3 separate regions of the Homo sapiens genome follow, and all the other regions are linked to region 1. The links are contacts of gene promoters, found by promoter capture Hi-C in human tissues and cell types (Jung and others, 2019). All regions are on one chromosome and are shown on one strand. Each heading gives the region's core, a stretch centred on a gene start or on the middle of the fragment in contact. The rest is flanking DNA. Distances are from core to core; before and after follow the strand shown. Region 1 holds the start of KANK2 (KN motif and ankyrin repeat domains 2). Region 2 holds the start of DOCK6 (dedicator of cytokinesis 6). Region 3 overlaps TSPAN16 (tetraspanin 16).

Evidence for each region. The method cuts DNA at HindIII sites, captures the fragments that hold promoters and counts their contacts. A contact is called where the count stands out against the background at its distance.
Region 2: the fragment with the promoter of DOCK6 here is called in contact with the fragment with the promoter of KANK2 in region 1 in 6 of the 25 tissues and cell types used here (aorta, dorsolateral prefrontal cortex, lymphoblastoid cells and 3 more).
Region 3: a fragment that was not itself captured here is called in contact with the fragment with the promoter of KANK2 in region 1 in 2 of the 25 tissues and cell types used here (dorsolateral prefrontal cortex and lymphoblastoid cells).

What each region holds. Positions count from the first base shown.
Region 1 is chr19:11,196,258-11,198,957 of GRCh38, forward strand. It overlaps KANK2 (KN motif and ankyrin repeat domains 2), which reads right to left and starts at 1,288. Exons shown (of 13, transcript NM_001136191.3): 1 at 1,228-1,288. RefSeq lists a silencer at 1,152-1,771. The HindIII fragment of the contact is 26,033 bases long and covers 1-2,700 here.
Region 2 is chr19:11,261,168-11,263,867 of GRCh38, forward strand. It overlaps DOCK6 (dedicator of cytokinesis 6), which reads right to left and starts at 1,357. Exons shown (of 48, transcript NM_020812.4): 1 at 1,230-1,357. The coding sequence starts at 1,273. RefSeq lists silencers at 932-1,071, 1,152-1,211, 1,282-1,441. The HindIII fragment of the contact is 27,433 bases long and covers 1-2,700 here.
Region 3 is chr19:11,305,361-11,308,060 of GRCh38, forward strand. TSPAN16 (tetraspanin 16) reads left to right here. Exons shown (of 7, transcript NM_001282509.2): 5 at 1,244-1,396. All of the region lies in intron 1 of TSPAN16-AS1 (TSPAN16 antisense RNA 1), which reads right to left. Among named protein-coding and RNA genes, the nearest start is that of TSPAN16, 11 kb to the left of the region's middle. The HindIII fragment of the contact is 9,661 bases long and covers 1-2,700 here.

The DNA.
Region 1 (2,700 bases), core at 38-2,537:
ATGTTGGTCAGGCTGGTCTCGAACTCCTGACCTCAGGTGATCCGCCCGCCTTGGCCTCCCAAAGTGCTGGGATTACAGGCATGAGCCACTGCACCCAGCCTAACATCAACTCTTTTAATTGTCATGACAATTCTATGAGATGGGCACTTATCGCCCCGTTTCACAGACAGGGGATGCAGAGGGTACAGAAAGGTACAGTGGCTTCCTCGGGGTCACTGGGGCCATGGGGAAGTGGCTGGGCCTGAACATGAACCTAAGCCTGGTGGATCCCCCCACTGCCCACCAAGCCACCACCCTCAGACTCCACATCAGATATCTCTACCCGTTTCCCAGATACGGAGACTGAGGTCTGAGGGTACTCAGTCATCTCACCGCCCTCGATGAGGACCAGCACGTCCCGAGTAAGGGGAAGAGAAAGGAGACGAGGGGGTGTGGTGGGGGAGATGGATGTCTGTGGCTGAGACCCTTCTCTCGCCATGGGACCCCTGGGGAATGGGGAAGGGGTGACAGGATAAGACAGAGATGGAGAGACTGGAGCCTATAAGAGGGGACAGGTAGGGAGCGCAGGGAAGGGGCGCGGGTCTCCCCAACCCACCACCCAAGACCGGCCTGCACATCGCGGAGGTCGGTGGTGGTGGTGGGGGGGGGTCTTCCCGCCCCAAACTCGGGGTGGGGGGAGGCGAGAAGGACCCCGCCCCGTGCAGAGAGGGGGCGGGGCCTGTGGGATCCCGGGCTAATGGCAAACAGCTGCCGCTCCCCACGCCGGCCCAGCCGCCAAGCCCAGGCCCAGCCCGGCCGGACGCCCGGCCGCCTTCCCGCCGTCTGGGGCATGGCCGCGGAGGAGGGCGAGGGGGGACAGTGCGGGGAGAGGGCAGAGCCGGGGAGGAACAGAGGCAGAAAGTGGGACAGAGACAGGGGAGAGCGGGCAGAGGGGAGCCAAGACAGGAGAAACGGGCAGGGCACGAGGAATCGATGGGGGGTACTGGGAGGAATCGATGGGGGTATGGGGTCAAAGACGAGGAGGGGGCAGGGACGCGGGGACAGACACTCCAAGTCTGGAAAGTTTGGGCACAGAAGGTGGAGTTGGAGGCAGCGGCTCGTTGAGACCAGCGAGGTCGTGTCCCAGGGTTGGAGGCGGGGGGTAGGGTAGTAGGTGTGTGTGGAGGGGGTGCACACTCGATCCCCGAACCAGACTTGAACCCCTACCCAGCCCCGGGTCCCACTCGCCTTGCGCGCTCCGGCCGCTGCCTTCCCTGGGTCCCGCCGCCCGAGCGTCTTCGCGCGCGCCGCAGCCTGGGCGCCCGGCCCTCGGAGGTGGCTCCGCCCGCACCACGCCCCCTCCGGCTGGTCCCGCCCCCCCAGCCGGCACCGCCCCCTCCAGCCGCCCGGGCGCCCCGGCCGCGGTGGGGGGTGGGGATGGAGAGACGCTGGTTGGAGACTGGATCTCACCTGGACAGCAGGTGTGTGTGCGCGCCGGGGTGTCCGGCCTCGTCCTTCCTTCCTCCCTAAGTCCCCGAGGCAGGGTCCTCCCACTGCCGGCCTCCCCCCCACCGCCTGCTGTCCCTGGGCCGCTGCGGGGGGCGGAACGGCTCGGCGGCGGGAGGGGGTGGAGCTGGCCGGGGCCCAGCTCGGGGAGGGCGCGCGGGGCGGGCGCGGCAGCGGGAGGTCACCCCTCCCCCAGGCGGCCCAGGGCTGGAAGCGGCCCAGCGCAGTCCTGGCACACGGTGGCGTGACCGCCGCGCGAGAAGGGAGGCTGCAGAGTCCTGGGCGCCGGCGCCAGCCAGACCTGCATTCCCATCCCAGACCCACCAAACTTTTGCTGCTCTGTGCCTCAGTTTATTCATCTGTAAAATGGAGATGATCATGTTAGCTACCTGATAGGAGCGTTGAGAAGATTCACTGACCATTAGGAAGGGGCCTAACCATCAGGAAGGAGGCCCTTCGGGTTAAAAACTCTCATAAATGGAGTGGCCTACTTTTGCAGAGATCTTTCTGGGAGCCCTTTTAGTACACAGCCAGCCACTCAGCAAGGGCTTAATAAATATTATTAAGCCGGCGAGGTGGCTCACACCTGTAATCTCAGTGCTTAGGGAGGCCAAGGCAAGAGGACTGCTTGAACTCAGGAGTTCGAGACCAGCCTGGGCAACATAGCAAGACCCTGTCTATGCAAAAAAATTTTTAAGTGAAAAAAAATTAGGCCAGGCGCAGTGGCTCATGCCTGTAATCGTAGCACTTTGGGAGGCCAAGGTGGGCGGATTATTTGAGCCAAGGAGTTGGAGACCAGCTTTGGCAATATGGTAAGACGCCATCTCTACAAAAAACAAAATACAAAAAACCACCTGGGGCCGAGAAATGGCTCATGCCTGTAATCCCAGCACTTTGGGAGTCCGAGGTGGGTGGATCATCTGAGGTCAGGAGTTCAAGACCAGCCTGGCCAACATGGTGAAACCCCTTCTCTACTAAAAATACAAAAACTATCCTGGCATGGTGGTGCACATCTGTAATCCCAGCTACTCGGGAGGCTGAGGTATGAGAATAACTTGAATCTGGGAGGTGGAGGTTGCCGTGAGCCGAGATTGCACCACTGCACTGCAGCCTGGGTGACAGAGTGAAACTCTGTCTAAAAAAAAAAAAAAGAAAAAGAAAAAAAAGCCAGGCACAGTGGCATGTGCCTATAATCTCTGCTACTCAGGAGGCTTG
Region 2 (2,700 bases), core at 107-2,606, 65 kb after region 1:
ACTGTCCCCCTCCAGCTCTCTGTTCCTGCCTCAGGGCCTTTGCACAAACCCTTCCCACTCTTTCCCCCCACAAACTGGCCTCGATCGATCCCTCTCTCATCTCCTTGAGGTTTTTGCTCAAAGGCACCTGCTCATCCAGGCCTTCCTGACCCACCTCCCGCATCTCAAGCAGCCCCCACCCTCCCATCCCCCTTCCCTGTCTTCTTGTCCCTACAGCACTTGTCACTGACAGGTAATCTACTCGATCAGGCTTCTGGTCTCTCTCCGCCACTATATCCCAAGAGGGGGATCTTTTGTCTCCATAAGACCAGGGCCCAACCCACAGGGCAGCTCTTTCACCTGGGGGCAGTCAGGACAGGTCCCCCGGGGAGAGGATACCTGAGCTTCTGAACGCACCCTTGTCGCAAAGACCCCCCGCCAACTGGGGGCGAGGCTTTTCAGCCCCAGAGAGTCTGATATACCCCTCCCAGGCTGTGACTCTCACAATCCCCAGTGGCCACGGAAATGGATCCCCCAGCGCCTGGGGCCTGTCCCCTCCCCCGTCTGCCCACCAGCTGGTTCTGTCCCCAGCCCCCACTCCCTCCATTCAATCACCCATCCATCCCCAGCGCGGTCCAGCCCGTGACGGGAGAGCCTGAAGCAGAAGGTGGGGGGGCGTCCACAGCTGTCCCCCTTCCCCCCCCCCGACAGCTGGGCACTGGACCCTGGAGGGGGAAGGGCACGGGAAACTCCTCGAGGGGTTTCAAACGCCACCAAGGAGCCCATCTCTGTCCCCAAATCTCAGAGCCTGGAGCCTCCCTGCCCCAAACCAGGCACTGAGGAAGGAACAGAAAGTCCGGCCCACCCCGATCTCCGAGAGCGCGGGGACAGTGAGGGGCCGAGAGGCGGACGGGGAGCGCAGGGAGTTCAGGGGGCGCCCGTCATCCGCATCCCCACGCCACCTCCTCCGGGAAGCCCTCCGGACACACCCCCGCGCGTCACGGAGGCAGAACGGCAGCCGCCATCGCGCTCCCAGCCCCGACGCGACTCCCATCTGGGACCCCCGCCGGGACCCCCGCGGCCCTCCCCGCCTTCTCCCGCTCCCAGCCCCGGCCGGAGGAAGCTGGCGGGACCCGGGCCGAGGCGGAAAGGGGTTGAATTGGGGGCGCCCGGGCGGGGAGGGTCGCACCGCCCCGGGGCGGAGCCGGGCCACGTGGGGGAGGTGGGAGGGGGCCCCGCGGCCACACTACCTGTTGATCTTGTGCGCGAAGGCGCGGCGCTCGGAGGCAGCCATGGTCCTCGCGTCCCGCCGCCGCCGCCCCGGGCCCCGGCCCCGCCGCCGCCGCCGCCTCCCGGTTCTGGGCAGCCGGGGCGGGGCGGGGCCGGCGCGGGGGCGGGGCCCTTCCGGGTGGCCCGGGCCGCTCCGTGCTGCCCCTGCAGGCCGGAGGGGTCGCCTGGAGTCCTGGGGGCTGGGGAAACTGAGGCTGGGGACGGAGAGGAGGCCCCGGGATCCAGGCTGGGCGGGCCCCAGACTCCCGGGCTGGGGGGACGCTCTTTCTACCCTAGGAGAAGGGCTGGGGAAACTGAGGCTGAGGAGGGAAGTTAGGGAGAGGAGGCGCTGGGACCCAGACTGGGGGTGCCCCAGACTCCCGAGCTGGCGGGGGCGCTCTTTCCACCCTGGGAGCTGGGCTGGAGAAACTGAGCCTGAGGAGGGAGGGAGGGAAGGGAGGCGCTGAGACCCGGGCTAGGTGGACCCCAGGCTCCCGGGGTTTAGTGGGGTGGTCTTACCACCCCAGGAGCAGGGCTGGGGAAACTGAAGCTCAGGAGGGAGGGAGGGAGGGGAGGCGCTGGGACCCAGGCTGGGTAGGCCCCAGATTTCCGGGGTTTGGGGGGCGCTCTTTCTGCCCTCTGACTCCTGGCTGGAAAACAATAACGATGTTCATGTATCTAATAATCATACCTGTAAGTATAATCGTGGCCGTGCATGGTGGCTCATGCCTGTAATCCCAGCACTGTGGGGGGCCAAGGCAGGAGGATTGTTTGAGCCCAGGAGTTGGAGACCAGCCTGGGCAACATAATGAGACCCCGTGTCCACAAAAAATGCAAAAATTAACCAGGCATGGTGGTGTGTGCCTGTAATCTCAGCTACTTGGGAGTCTGAGGGAGGAGGATCGCTTGAGCCTGGGAGGTCAAGGCTGCAGTGAGCTGTGATTGTGCCATTTCAATCCAGCCTGGGTGACAGAGCGAGACCCTGTCTCAAAAAGTCTAATTGCTAAGATGTCATTGAGCCTGGCCCTGCAATTCACACATGCAGAAGAAATTATTGTTTTCCTCCTTTTACAGATGAGTAAACTGAGGCACAGAGGTGTTCGGGTGCTTGCTCAGTGTGACTCACAGGGGTCTCCAGCGCCTGCATTGTCCGTGCTCCCAGTCTACAGCATGGGAGTCAGAGGAGCCTGGCTAGGCACTGGAGTGCTCGGAGATGTGCCCCAGGTCCAGGTGGTGGGACCTGAGTGAGCCAGTTTGGGAGTCTAGACTTTCGGGGCCGCCTCTACCAAGAGGAAGAGGTGGGGATGTCTTGGTTAATCTATGGTCTCAAATCTCTCCCCACTGGCCTCTCTCCCAGCACTGCTGCAGCATTTTTAGAGAATTCTCCAGCCGACACTCCCCTCTGGAGGAGCTCACCCCTTTCTCACCTGCATGCCTCTGCACCGGCAGGTC
Region 3 (2,700 bases), core at 109-2,608, 110 kb after region 1:
CTCTACTAAAAATACAAAAATTAGCCGGGCATGGTGGTGCATGCCTGTAATCCCAGCTACTCGGGAGGCCGAGGTAGGAGAATTGCTTGAACCCAGGAGGTGGAAGTTGCAGAGAGCCAAGATCGCGCCATTGCACTCCAACCTGGGCAACAGACAGAGACTGTGTCTCAAAAAAAATAATAAAAATAAAAATAAAAATAAAAATAAAAATAAAATCCTTGTTGGGCCAGGTGCAGTGGCTCACATCTGTAATCCTAGCACTTTGGGAGGCTGAGATGGGTGGATCGCTTGAGGCTAAGAGTTTGAGACCAGCCCAGGCAACATAGCAAGACCCATCTCTACAATAGATAAAAAATGTAGCCAGGCGTGATGGCCTGCACCTGTAGTCCCAGCTACTCAGGAGGCAGAGGAGGGAGAATCGCTTGAGCCCAGAAGATTGAGGTTGCAGTAAGCTACGATCTCAGCACTGCACTTCAAATTCATTCTTCCATTACTGACATGTGAATGAAGAGATGGGCAATCTCTGGTTCTTCCGTTACTGACATGTGAGTGGAGAGATGGGCAAGAAACCAATAACTAAACATTGGTATCAGGTTCATAACTGCTGTGAATAAAAACAAGGCAGGGCCGGGCACGGTGGCTCACGCCGCTAATCCCAGCACTTTGGGAGGACAAGGAGGGTGGATCACTTGAGGTCAGGAATTCGAGACCAGCCTGGCCAACGTGGCATAAACCTGTCTCTACTAAAAATACAAAAATTAGCCAGGCGTGGGGGCGTGTGCCTGAAATCCCAGCTACTCGGGAGACTGAGGCAGGAGAATCACTGAGGAGTTCAGCTTTTTTTTCTTTTTAGAGACAGGTCTTGCTCTGTTGCCCAGGGTGGAATGTAGTGGTGAGGTCATAGCTCACTGCAGCCTTGATCTCCCGGGCTCAAGAGATCCTCTAGCCTGAGCCTCCTGAGTAGCTGGGAATACCGGCATCTGCCACCATGCCTGGCTAATTTTTAAATTTTTTTGCCGAGATGGGGTCTCACCCTGTTGCCCAGGCTAGGAGTTCAGCTTTTACCCTGAGTGAGATGGGAGCCAGGGAGGGTTCTGGGCTGTGATGGGATGTTTGTAAGAGGATGTTTAGCACAGTCTCTGGGATATTGTGACCATACTAGACGGTAGCCATGGTAACCGTGATTTCTGATGTTTTTATTATTTGAAAGGGACTCTCCAAGTATTTCTTCTCCTCTCTATAGCTAAAGTGCTGTGGGGTGAATAACTACACAGATTTTTCTGGCTCTTCCTTCGAAATGACAACGGGCCACACCTACCCCAGGAGTTGCTGTAAATCCATCGGAAGTGTGTCCTGTGACGGACGCGATGTGTCTCCAAACGTCATCCACCAGAAGGTAACTGGAGATTTTGTGTGTTGCCTTGACAGACCCCTGAGGGCTGGTGACTTCATTTTTATTTTTATCTTATTTTGAGAAAGAGTTTCACCCTTGTCACCCAGGCTGGAGTGCAGTGGTGCGATCTCGGCTCACTGCAACCTCCGCCTCCCAGGTTCAAGTGATTCTCCCGCCCCAGCCTCCCAAGTAGCTGGGATCACAGGCATGCACCGCCACACCCGGCTAATTTTGTATTTTTAGTAGAGATGGGGTTTCACCATGTTGGCCAGGCTGGTCTCGAACCTCAGGTGATCCACCCACCTTGGCCTCCCAAAGTGCTGGGATTACAGGCATGAGCTACTGTACCCAGCCTTTTTATTTATTTATTTAGTTAGTTATTTTGAGATGGAGTTTCACTGTGTCTCCCAGGCTGGAGTGCAATGGTGCCATCTTGGCTCACTGCAACCTCCGCCTCCTGGGTTCAAGTGATTCTCCTGCCTCAGCCTCCCGAGTAGCTGGGATTACAGGTGTGTGCCACCACGCCCGGCTGATTTTTGTATTTTTACTAGAGATGGGGTTTCCTCATGTTGGCCAGGCTGGTCTCAAACTCCTGAGCTCAAGTGATCCTCCCACCTCGGCCTCCCAAAGTGCTGGGATTACAGGCATGAGCCACCACACCCGGCCTTATTTTTATTTTTTTAGAGATAGGGTCTCACTCTGTTGCCCAGGCAGGAGTGCAATGGTGCAATCACGGCTCACTGCAGCCTCAAACTCCTGGGCTCAAGTGATCCTCCTGCCTCAGCCTCCCGAGTAGCTGGGACCACAGGCACGTGCCACCATGCCTGGCTAATTTTTTTTTAATTTTTATTTTTAATAGAGATGAGGCCTTAGTATGTTGCCCAGGCTGGTCTCGAACTCCTGGCCTCAAGCAATCCTCCTGCCTCAGCCTCTCAAAATGCTGGGATTACAGGCATGAACCACCACACCCAGCCTGGTAACTTTAATAAAAATTGCTTCTTTTGGGGGACCCCTGCAAAGGGGGTCAGGGAGAAAGAAATCAACTCTTATTGAGTGTTCAGCTTATTTTGACAACACAGAGCAGGGACTTACGGTTACCTTCTCTCAGAAACTGAGGCTCGGGGAGGGGACATCACTAGTTCAAGATCACAGAGCTTTGGCAGAGTTGGAATTTGAAGCCCCATTGGCCTGAGTCCATTGCCGGCACCACACTACCTGCCTTCTAGAGACCCTAAATGGAGCAATAACCATGAAAAGTGATCATCCTAGCGGGAGTGAGGGCCAGCCACGTGATGGAGCACTCACTT